Regions from separate parts of the Homo sapiens genome. Here region 2 is linked to region 1. Evidence: promoter capture Hi-C in human tissues and cell types (Jung and others, 2019). All regions are on one chromosome and are shown on one strand. Each heading gives the region's core, a stretch centred on a gene start or on the middle of the fragment in contact. The rest is flanking DNA. Distances are from core to core; before and after follow the strand shown. Region 1 overlaps ZNF8-DT (ZNF8 divergent transcript). Region 2 holds the start of TRIM28 (tripartite motif containing 28).

Evidence for each region. The method cuts DNA at HindIII sites, captures the fragments that hold promoters and counts their contacts. A contact is called where the count stands out against the background at its distance.
Region 2: a contact is called between the fragment with the promoter of TRIM28 here and a fragment that was not itself captured in region 1, in 1 of the 25 tissues and cell types used here (liver).

Annotation. Positions count from the first base shown.
Region 1 is chr19:58,268,227-58,273,261 of GRCh38, reverse strand. All of the region lies in intron 1 of ZNF8-DT (ZNF8 divergent transcript), which reads left to right. It also overlaps a transcript of ZNF544 not described here. Among named protein-coding and RNA genes, the nearest start is that of ZNF8-DT, 8.0 kb to the left of the region's middle. The HindIII fragment of the contact is 7,344 bases long and covers 1-5,035 here.
Region 2 is chr19:58,542,608-58,547,179 of GRCh38, reverse strand. It overlaps TRIM28 (tripartite motif containing 28), which reads right to left and starts at 3,116. Exons shown (of 17, transcript NM_005762.3): 1 at 2,083-3,116; 2 at 1,643-1,755; 3 at 1,284-1,416. The coding sequence starts at 2,422. It also overlaps the pseudogene RN7SL525P. RefSeq lists silencers at 2,096-2,385, 2,406-2,565, 2,646-2,855 and enhancers at 2,976-3,285, 3,437-3,941. The HindIII fragment of the contact is 31,195 bases long and covers 1-4,572 here.

The sequences.
Region 1 (5,035 bases), core at 1,369-3,868:
ATTTGTAATTTTGTTGTGCTATTAAAGTATATGATAATATGATTTTCTACTTTTTTGGTTTCTTTCTTCTTTTTTTTTTTGAGACAGAGTTTCGCTCTTGTTGCCCAGGCTGGAGTACAATGGTGCGATCTTGGCTTACTGCAACCTCCGCCTCCTGGGTTCAAGCGATTCTCCTGCCTCAGCCTCCCAAGTAGCTGGGATTACAGGCATGCGCCACCACACCCGGCTAATTTTTGTAATTTTAGTAGAGATGGGTTTCACCATGTTAGCCAGGATGGTCTCGATTTCCTGAACTTGCAATCTGCCCAACTCGGCCTCCCAAAGTGCTGGGATTACAGGCATGAGCCACCGCGCCCGGCCTTTTTTTCTTTTCTTTTCTTTTTTTTTTTGAGAAGGAGACTCGCTCTGTAGCCCAGGCTGGAGTGCAGTGGCACGATCTCAGCTCACTGCAACCTCCGCCTCCCAGGTCCCGGTTCAAGCAATTCTCCTGCCTCAGCCTCCTGAGTAGCTGGATTTACAGGCACGCACCACCACGTCTTTTAGTAGAGACGGGGTTTCACCATGTTGGCCAGGCTGGTCTTGAACTCCTGACCTCATGATTCTCCCGCCTCAACTTCTTCTTGATAAGAATTCTGGAAAATCAAATCTTCAAGGACTAACCCACTCCCTTTAAATCCAAGGGATTATTTTTATTTTTATTTTTAAAGAAACAGGGTCTCACTCTGTTGCCCAGGCTGGAATGCAGTGGTGCAATCTCAGCTCACTGCAGCCTCAACTTCTCAGGCTCAAGTGATCTCACACCTCAGCCTCCTGAGTAGCTGGAACAACAGGCGCGTGCCACCACACCTGGTTTTTTATTTCTTGCAGAGACAGAGTCCTGCCATGTTGCCCAGTCTAATCTCAAACTCACGGCCTCAGTTGATCCTTCCACCTGGGCCTTGGTCTGTTAGGATTACAGGTGTAAGCCACCACACCCATCCAACTCCAGGGGATTCTAGGAAGCCAAGGAACCTTCCTGCCCTGCCTGCTGAAATAAACTCAAACTGGCCAAACAGACAAGTCTGACATCTTTTCTTTATGCTTTTTTTTTTTTTTTTTCCTGTCAAGGAGTCTCACTCTGTTGCCCAGGCTAGAGTGTAGTGGGGCAATCTCGGCTCATTGCAATCTCCAACTCCCGGGTTCCAGCGATTCTCCTGCTCAGCCTCCCAAGTAGCTGGCATTACAGGCACCCACCACCACGCCCAGATAATTTTTGCATTTTTAGTGGGGACAGGGTTTCACCATGTCGGCCAGGCTGGTCTTCAACTCCTGACCTCAAGTGATCCGCCCGCCTCGGCCTCCCAAAGTGCTGGGATTACAGGCATGAGCCACTGCGCCCAGCCTGCTCTTGCTTGATTTTTTAAATTGTCAGATCACTAATACAGAGACACCGAATCAAAAGGAGAGTAGGACAGTTGTTCATAATCCCACAAATCAAATGCTTACCTCCTCATGTACCATTGCTTCTCTCACCTATAGGCACACATTTGAAATAATTTGTTAGTTATCCAAATAAGAAGTGAACCACCAGGGAATTAAATGCTATGGGCTTAAAAGGGAAAGTACTCATCTCCTGCCCCAGTCACTCATCCTCTCAGCCTCCCGACATCACTTTTTTTTTGAGATAGGGTCTCACACTGTCACATAGGCTGGAGTGCAGTGATATAATAACAGCTAACTGCAGCCTCAACCTCCTGGGGTCAAAGAATCCTCCCAACTCAGCTTCCTGAGTAGCTGGGACTTCAGGTATGTGCTACTATGCCCGGCTAATTTTTGTATTTTTTGTAGAGACCAGGTCTCGCCATGTTGCCCAGGCTGGTCTCCAACTCTTAGGCTCAAGTGATCCACCTGCCTCAGCCTCCCAAAGCACTGGGATTACAGGTGTGCACCACCATATCCACTGCACCCACCTCCAGCCACTTTTAACCATATCTGTTCCAATTCTTCTTGAGGACACCTCCGTAATTCTAATCTTTGATCATCTTTAGTCTTTTTTTTTTTTTTTTTCCTGGAGACGGAGTCTGACTCTGTTGCCCAGGCTGGAGCACAGTGATGCAATCTCAGCTCACTGCAACCTCCACTTCCTGGGTTCAAACGATTCTCCTGCCTCAGCCTCCTGAGTAGCTGGGATTACAGGTGCCCACCACCACGCTGGGCTAATCTTTGTATTTTTAGTAGAGACAGAGTTTCACCATGTTGGCCAGGCTGGTCTCAAACTCCTGACCTCAGGTGATCCACCCACCTCAGCCTCCCAAAGTGCTGGGATTACAGGCATAAGCCACCGCATCCAGCCAATCATCTTTAGTTTTCACTAACTTCCTGCTCTGACAGGTGAGGATCTGACTCACATCCGCTGCCAATTCCTCTCATATTACATTTCAAGCTTTAATTTTCATCTTCTAAATAAACTTACATATCATGTTTAAAAGCCTACTTCCTAAAAGGATGGTAAGGGAAACCTCTACTCTCCACTACTACTTTCCCCATCTACTCTCCCACATCTGCAGGTGGGGCTGACATTGTCAGTGACAGGAATAATGACAACAGTGCCCTACCCTACGGCCACTATGAAGTTGTCAGGTCACAGCCATGTGTTACTTCCTAAAAATTAAAAGCCAATACAGGCCGGGTGCAATGGCTCATCCCTGTAATCCCAGCACTTTGGGATGCCAAGGTGGGCGGATCACAAGGTGAGGAGTTGGAGACCATCCTGACCAACATGGTGAAACCCTGTGTCTACTAAAAATACAAAAATTAGCTGGGCGTGGTGGCACGTGCCTGTAATCCCAGCTACTCAGGAGGCTGAGGCAGGAGAATTGCTTGAACCCGGGAGGCGGAGGTTACAGTGAGCCAAGATCGCGCCACTGCACTCCAGACTGGGCAACAGAGACTCCTTCTCAAAAAAAAAGAAAAAAAAAGCCAATACCTAGGGTTCACGTCACAGCTATGCAAATGCCATTCCCTGAAGGGTCAATCAACAATCTGACTGCATCTCCTCCTCCTTTATTCAAATTTCATGAGCTTTTTGCCCCCTCCAGCAAGAATTACTCACATCAGTGTCAAGTGAACACTACTTTCTAAAGTTACCTTCACATAGGAACTATAACCATCTAGCAGAATTTGTATAGTTTGAGCACAATTTACCTTGAAGCCTTCAATTAAAATTACCTTTTTTTTTAAGTTATGGGTGAATAAACATTCCTTTTCTTGCCCTATTCCTTTTCTAGATTAAAGCTATTCCTTTCTTAGATTCAAAACTATTTTCTCTAGAGAAGGTTCTGCCATGCCATTTGCTCTGTTTTGAGACAGAGTCTCATTCTGTCGCCCAGGCTGGAGTCCAGTGGCATGATCTAGACTCATTGCAACCTCTGCCTCCCAGGTTCAAGTGATACTCCTGCGTCAGCCTCCTGAGTAGCTGGGATTGCAGGCATTTATCACCACACTTGGCTAATTTTTGTATCTTTAGTAGAGACAGGGTTTCACCATCTTGGCCAGGCTGGTCTCAAACTCCTAACCTAGAGTGATCCACCTGCCTCGGTCTCCCAAAGTGCTGGGATTACAGGCGTGAGCCACCATGCCAGCCCTGCCATCTTTTTTTTTTTTTTTTTTTTTGAGACAGAGTCTCGCTTTGTCGCCCACGCTGGAGTGCAGTGGCACAATCTTAGCTCACTGCAACCTCCACCTCCTGGGTTCAAGCAATTCTCCTACCTCAGCCTCCCAAGTAGCTGGGATTACAGGTGTGAGCCACCATGCCCGACCCTGACATTTTTTTTGTTTGTTTTTTTTTGAGACAGAGTCTCGCTTTGTCGCCCAAGGCTGGAGTGCAGTGGCACAATCTTAGCTCACTGCAACCTCTACCTCTCGAGTTCAAGCGATTCTCCTGCCTCAGCCTCCTGAATAGCTGGGATTATAGGCGGCTGCCACCATGCCTGGCTAATTTTTGAATTTTTATTAGAGATGAGGTTTCACAATGTCGGCCAGGCTGGTCTCAAACTCTTGACTTCAGGTGATCTGCCTGCCTCAGCCTCCCAAAGAGCTGGGATTACAGGCGTGAGCCACCACGCCCAGCCTGCCATCTGTTTTTAGTCGTGGTGTTCTCAGTTTTCCACGATGCATGGGTCTTATTAATTCTGATAATAATGGCATGACCTGAAAATTTCCTTTCAGCCCTGGGGAAGTTTCCCTTTCTTTTTCTTACTTATTTGTTCAATGTGGAAAGTAAAAGTTCCTCTTCAAAGTTTCCCTTCTTGTTAAAGAATAAATCATAAGTGTTAAAAAATAATAGTTTCTTTTATAAACTAACTTCCTTGAAACCTCCTTGCTTTGTGCTAGTAAGTCTTTGTTAGGCCCTATCCTATGTAGCTGGTAAACATGCTCACAGGCACGTAGTACGTTCTATGTCCCTGTACCTTAACCAAGTTATTTGTGCTGGACATGCTCATGGTCACGTTCCAGCTTACAGCCTATGCTCCTTCCATATCTGGCATAAGCAACTTCCTCTTTTCCTTCGTCTTTCCACTACTTTTACCTATTTAGAAAAGTTTTAAACTGTTAGCTAATCTAGTTTTAGTTTAGATTGTGCAGGCTGGCTCCAGCCAACGGAGACAGGACACAGTAGCAGGGACAAACTGCCTAAGGAATAAAAATTGCTTCCCTCCTTTGTTCAGGTGTGCTCTTGCCATTGTTCCATCTGTGATGAGCACCCTTTCTGCAGAAAGTAAAAACGGCCTTGCTGAGAGAATTAAATTTATGTTTTGAGTGCTATTTCTTTGCAGCACCAGGCAACAAGCATTCTGTTTCTCACTAAACATTGTATCTATAACATTGAACAATCTTACTTGTAATTTCAAAGAGCCTGTTCTGGTTCTCATTGTTCTATTTTATCAAAGTATCTTATTTTTTATTTTTATTTATTTTTTCTGAGACGGAGTTTCACTCTTGTTGCCCAGGCTGGAGTGTAATGGCACTAGACCTCGGCTCACTGCAATCTCCACCT
Region 2 (4,572 bases), core at 1,867-4,366, 270 kb before region 1:
AGCTGAGAAACACATCCCTTTCTTCTAGCTTCTAGAGATAACAACAATGTAAGGGTAAGGATAACAGCGTCTAGAAAAAGAGGACCACCCCACCCCACCCCCCACCCCCGCTGACCCTTCCCCACACTGTTCCCTTTACTGAACACTTCTCCAAGTGGACATACTCAGAATTCTGCCTACACACCACCCTGGATTCCTTTTCTTCTCCTTTCATGGTTAACTTCCTCCCTCTTCCCTGACAAGAGAACACCAGGGTCTCTTACAATCCAAGGGCCCAGAGGAAACCTTGTAGAGGTTCTCATACTGGGAGAGATGAAATGTCAAACCAGGACCCTCAGAATGGTGGTCACACCCCCTCTAGAGCAGAATCTTGGTGCTCAGCATAATCCCACCCAAAGACCAACCCATTAATAACCTCCAAAGCCTGTCTCCCCATTAGAAAACTGATCAAACACACTGGTCCCACATACCAACCAAATCCAAAATATGTAGCATCAGGGCTCATTGGGGAAACTGACTTCCCCAATGCCACTCATTCCTGCACCCTGACCTTTGCCTGGGACGTCTGGAATGTAGGACACCCTGCAGCCCCTGCGTATCCCTCCTGGCTGCTCAGGCCCCACAGCCACCACCTTCCCGCTATCTTCCACCAATGCTGTCCTCTGGGATGGGAAGAATCACAGTATGGCTACCAAAAGGCCACTCATGGGAGGATTCTGGCCCCAAAACTTGGCTAGACTCAAAAGACTCTCAAGCTCCTTCCAAACCAAAGCTAGCTGTGTCTGTGAAAAGCTGGAAATGCCAAACCAAACTTTGGGTAAGTCTCTGCCAACTCAAAAGCTAAAACACTTCCAAAAATCATCATCACTTATAATCCATGGACCCACAGTCTACTTTCCCTAGCAGCATCTTATACCAGATGTGTGCCAGGGAACCACAAACCCAGAAAGCCCTTCACACCATGCCTTTCCCTGTTTGCATATGCTGAGCCCTTCACCACCAGGTCTGACAACTCCCTGATAAGCCTTCTCAAACCCTTTGTACCTCCCTGCAGCACATTAAGGTCTCCCTTATTTCCCCTTCCCACCCTCTCCCACCTAGGCCCTAGAGACTACACACCACAACCCCAGTTTTTCTGCTTCTGGAGTTCTGCCCTCGGGCCCTTCGGGCGGCACCCCCTAGAGAACTCTAGGACCCATCCACCAGATGCAACCAACATCATAAAAGCAACTGAGGGCACACATGGGAGAACAACTCCAACAGCCCCCCTCAGCCTCATGTACCAGTAGAGCGCACAGTATGGTCCTTGGTGTACTTCACCCGCTGGTGCGCCTCTACACAGGTCTCACACAGAGGCTCCGAGCACTCCACACAGTAGCTGGTGGCTGGGGCATTATCCTCACAGCTAGTGCAGCACTGCCAGACAAAGGCAGGGTCAGAGAAGGCAAGACAACTTGATAGATCCACGTTTACATCCCAGAAAATACAACCGGAGATTTAAGATTGGTCCCTTGACCCAACCTAGGCAGCCCACCCAGAGCCTTGGGAAAGTGGAGTAACAGCCTGGAGCTGGTGCCAAGCTCCTCCTGCGCAGATGCCCCCTCCCCAGAAACCTCCTTGTGGTTGCTGAGATAGGACGCACCTGGTTCGCATCCTGGGCGTCGGTGGCAGCCTTGCTGCCACTATCACGCATGAAATAATTCTCCACGATGTCTTTGGAGAAGCACTGTTGCTTGCACACGGGACAGTCCACCACTTCGAGAAGCAGGGATGTGGGAGACTGTTACAAGTTCCCACCCAGGTTATGGCCCCCACCATTCCCCTGCTGGGTGGGCCCCCGACCATTATCCCGCAGCGAACCAGCCCCTCCCCTCCCCGAGCCTTCTTTTCTCCAACTTTAGTCAGATGTCCCATCTCAGCGGCCAGCACAAACCCACGTTCGTATGCAGGACCCAGAAAGTATTTCCCGTGCCCTGTCCGGGCCCCCATCCTCTCGCCCAGGTGGCATCCTCATCTCTGCACCCAGTCGGAATCAAAGGCAGAGAGTAGGGGGAGGGGTGGCACCGATCACTTCGTACTTACCGGTGCCGTCGCCCGCCGCCCCGCCGTCCCCCGAGCTGTTGGCGGCGGCGGGGGCCGCGGGCCCTAAGCAGGCACTACAGGCCGAGTGCAAACAGGGCAGCAGGCGGGGCTCCCTCTCGGGTCGCAGGCGCTCTCTGCACACGCCGCAGTGCTCCAGCAGCTCCAGCGCCTCGGCGCCGCCCCCCGCGGGCGACGACGCCGCGGCTGAGGCAGAGGCCGAGGCTGCGGCCGAAGGGGCGGTGGAGCGCTTTTCGCCGCCAGCGGAGCCCTCGCCCGGGCCCGGGCTGCCAGAGGCGGCCGAGGCCGCTGCTGCCGAGGCTGCCGCCGCGGAGGCCGCCATTCACACGCCGCCGGGGGCGCCCAGGGGGGGAGGAGGGGCGCGGGGCCCGCCGCGCAGGCGCAGACGCGCTCGCCGCCAACTGCTGGGCCGCTGCCGCCGCCGCCGCCGCGAGGCCGAGCGCCGCCACGCGCCTCCTGGGCCGCTGCCCGCCGCGCGCGGGACGCTGCTACGGCACGGCCAACTGCTGCCTGCTCGCCTCCCGAAGGCGCCGCCCGCGCTTCTTCCTCAGCCGCCGCCGAAACCCGCACCACGCGCCACAAGCACAAGCACAACCGCTCGCCCGCGCGCCCGCTCGCAGAAAGAGCCGAGGCCGGGGGGCGGGACAGAAATAACTGGCGCCGACGCCGCCGCGCACGCGCATTGGGCGCCTCACGCCCGGGGGCGGGGCCCAGGCCGGTCGGTGCGGGAGAGGCCGCCAGTACGCACGCGCCAACTCCTAGTCCTTCCACCACCGCCAACCCCACGTCGGTGGGGCTCTTGTGGGGGCGGGGCGGGGCCTCTGTGACGTCACTGCCGCAATTGAATCCGCCAGTGGGGTATGCGAACCTTTATAGAGTGTGATTCCCCTCTCAGCTCCACCTCCAGACCACACAGAAGCGGGCCGCTGTGCGCCCAAGCGCATGGGCAATCCGTCCCTCTTCCTCAACCCGCGTCTCTTCGCCGCCGTAGAGTCGTCTCCAGCCTCTGCGTCACTAAGAGTTCGGGATAGGGGGCAGGGCCGATGGAGAAGTAGGCGGGGCCAAGACCGAGTGAAGGGCTGTGTCCAGGGAGAGGGGAGGAGAGTCTCCATCCCAAGAGGGAGGAAGCTCCTGTGTGAGCTCGGGTGCTGACTTTTGGATTTTAACCACGCTATAGTTAAACTTGAGAAACACAGAAACTTGACTGAATCAAATGTAGATCACAGCCGGGCGCCGTGGCTCATACCTGTAATCCCACCACTTTCTTAGGCGAGTCGGGAAGCTCCGTTTAGCCCAGGAGGCCGAGGCAGCAGTGAGGCGGGATTGTGCCACTGCACGCCAGCCTAGACCACAGATGGAGAAAAATGTGGCCGGGCGCGGCGGCTCACGCCTGTAATTCCAGCACTTTGGGAGGTCGAGGCGGTTGGATCTTAAGTCAGGAGTTCGAGAGCAGCCTGGCCAACGTGGTGAAACCCCGTCTCTACTAAAAGTACAAAAAGTAGCCGGGCGTGGTGGCAGGCGCCTGTAATCCCAGCTACTCGGGAGGCTGAGGCAGGAGAATCGCTTGAACCCGGGAGGCGGAGGTTGCAGTGAGCCGAGATCGTGCCATTGCACTACAGCCTGGGAGAAAAGAGTGAAACTCCATCTCAAAAGAGGAGAGAAAGGTTTTTGTGTTTGTTTTGAGACGGAGTTTTGCTCTGTTGCCCAGGCTGGAGTGCAGTGGCACGATCTCGGCTCGCTGCAACCTCCGCCTCCCGGGTTCAAGCGATTCTTCTGCCTCAGCCTCCCGAGTAGCTGGGATTACAGGGGCCTGCCATCACGCCTGGCTAATTTTTGTATTTTTAATAGAGACGGGGTTTCACCACGTTGGCCAGGCTGGTCTCGAACTCCCGACGTCAGATGATAGACCCACTTTGGCCTCCCAAAGTGCTGGAATTACAGGTGTGAGCCACCACGCCGGGCCCCCCAACCCCCCATCAAGAAAAAAAATATATATATATATATACACATATATATAAATCACAAGAGGCTAAAGAGCAATGAGTCTGTGAAATCCCACCCAGCCCCCCAAGGCATCCCCTCCCCATGTTTTCGTCAGCAGCTACCCTGACTTTGATGCTTTTCCAGATGGGGAAACTGAACCTCAACAGTGGGGAATCCCAAGGAGGGAAGGAAGCAGGTCCATGTGGGGAGAATCCTGTCTGAGGTGGAAAGTAGGGTTTGTGTGGGGAAAATCCTGTCTGAGGGAAAGAGGGTGTGTGTGCGGAGGGGAACCCTGTCTGAGGAGGGAAGCAGGGTCTGTGTGGGGAGAATCCTGTCTGAGGAGGGAAGCAGCGTCTGTGTGGGGAGAATCCTGTCTGAGGAGGGAAGCAGGGTGTGTGTGGGGAGAATCCTGTCTGAGGAGGGAAGCAGGGTGTGTGTGGGGAGAATCCTGTCTGAGGAGGGAAGCAGGTTCTGTGTGGGGAGAATCCT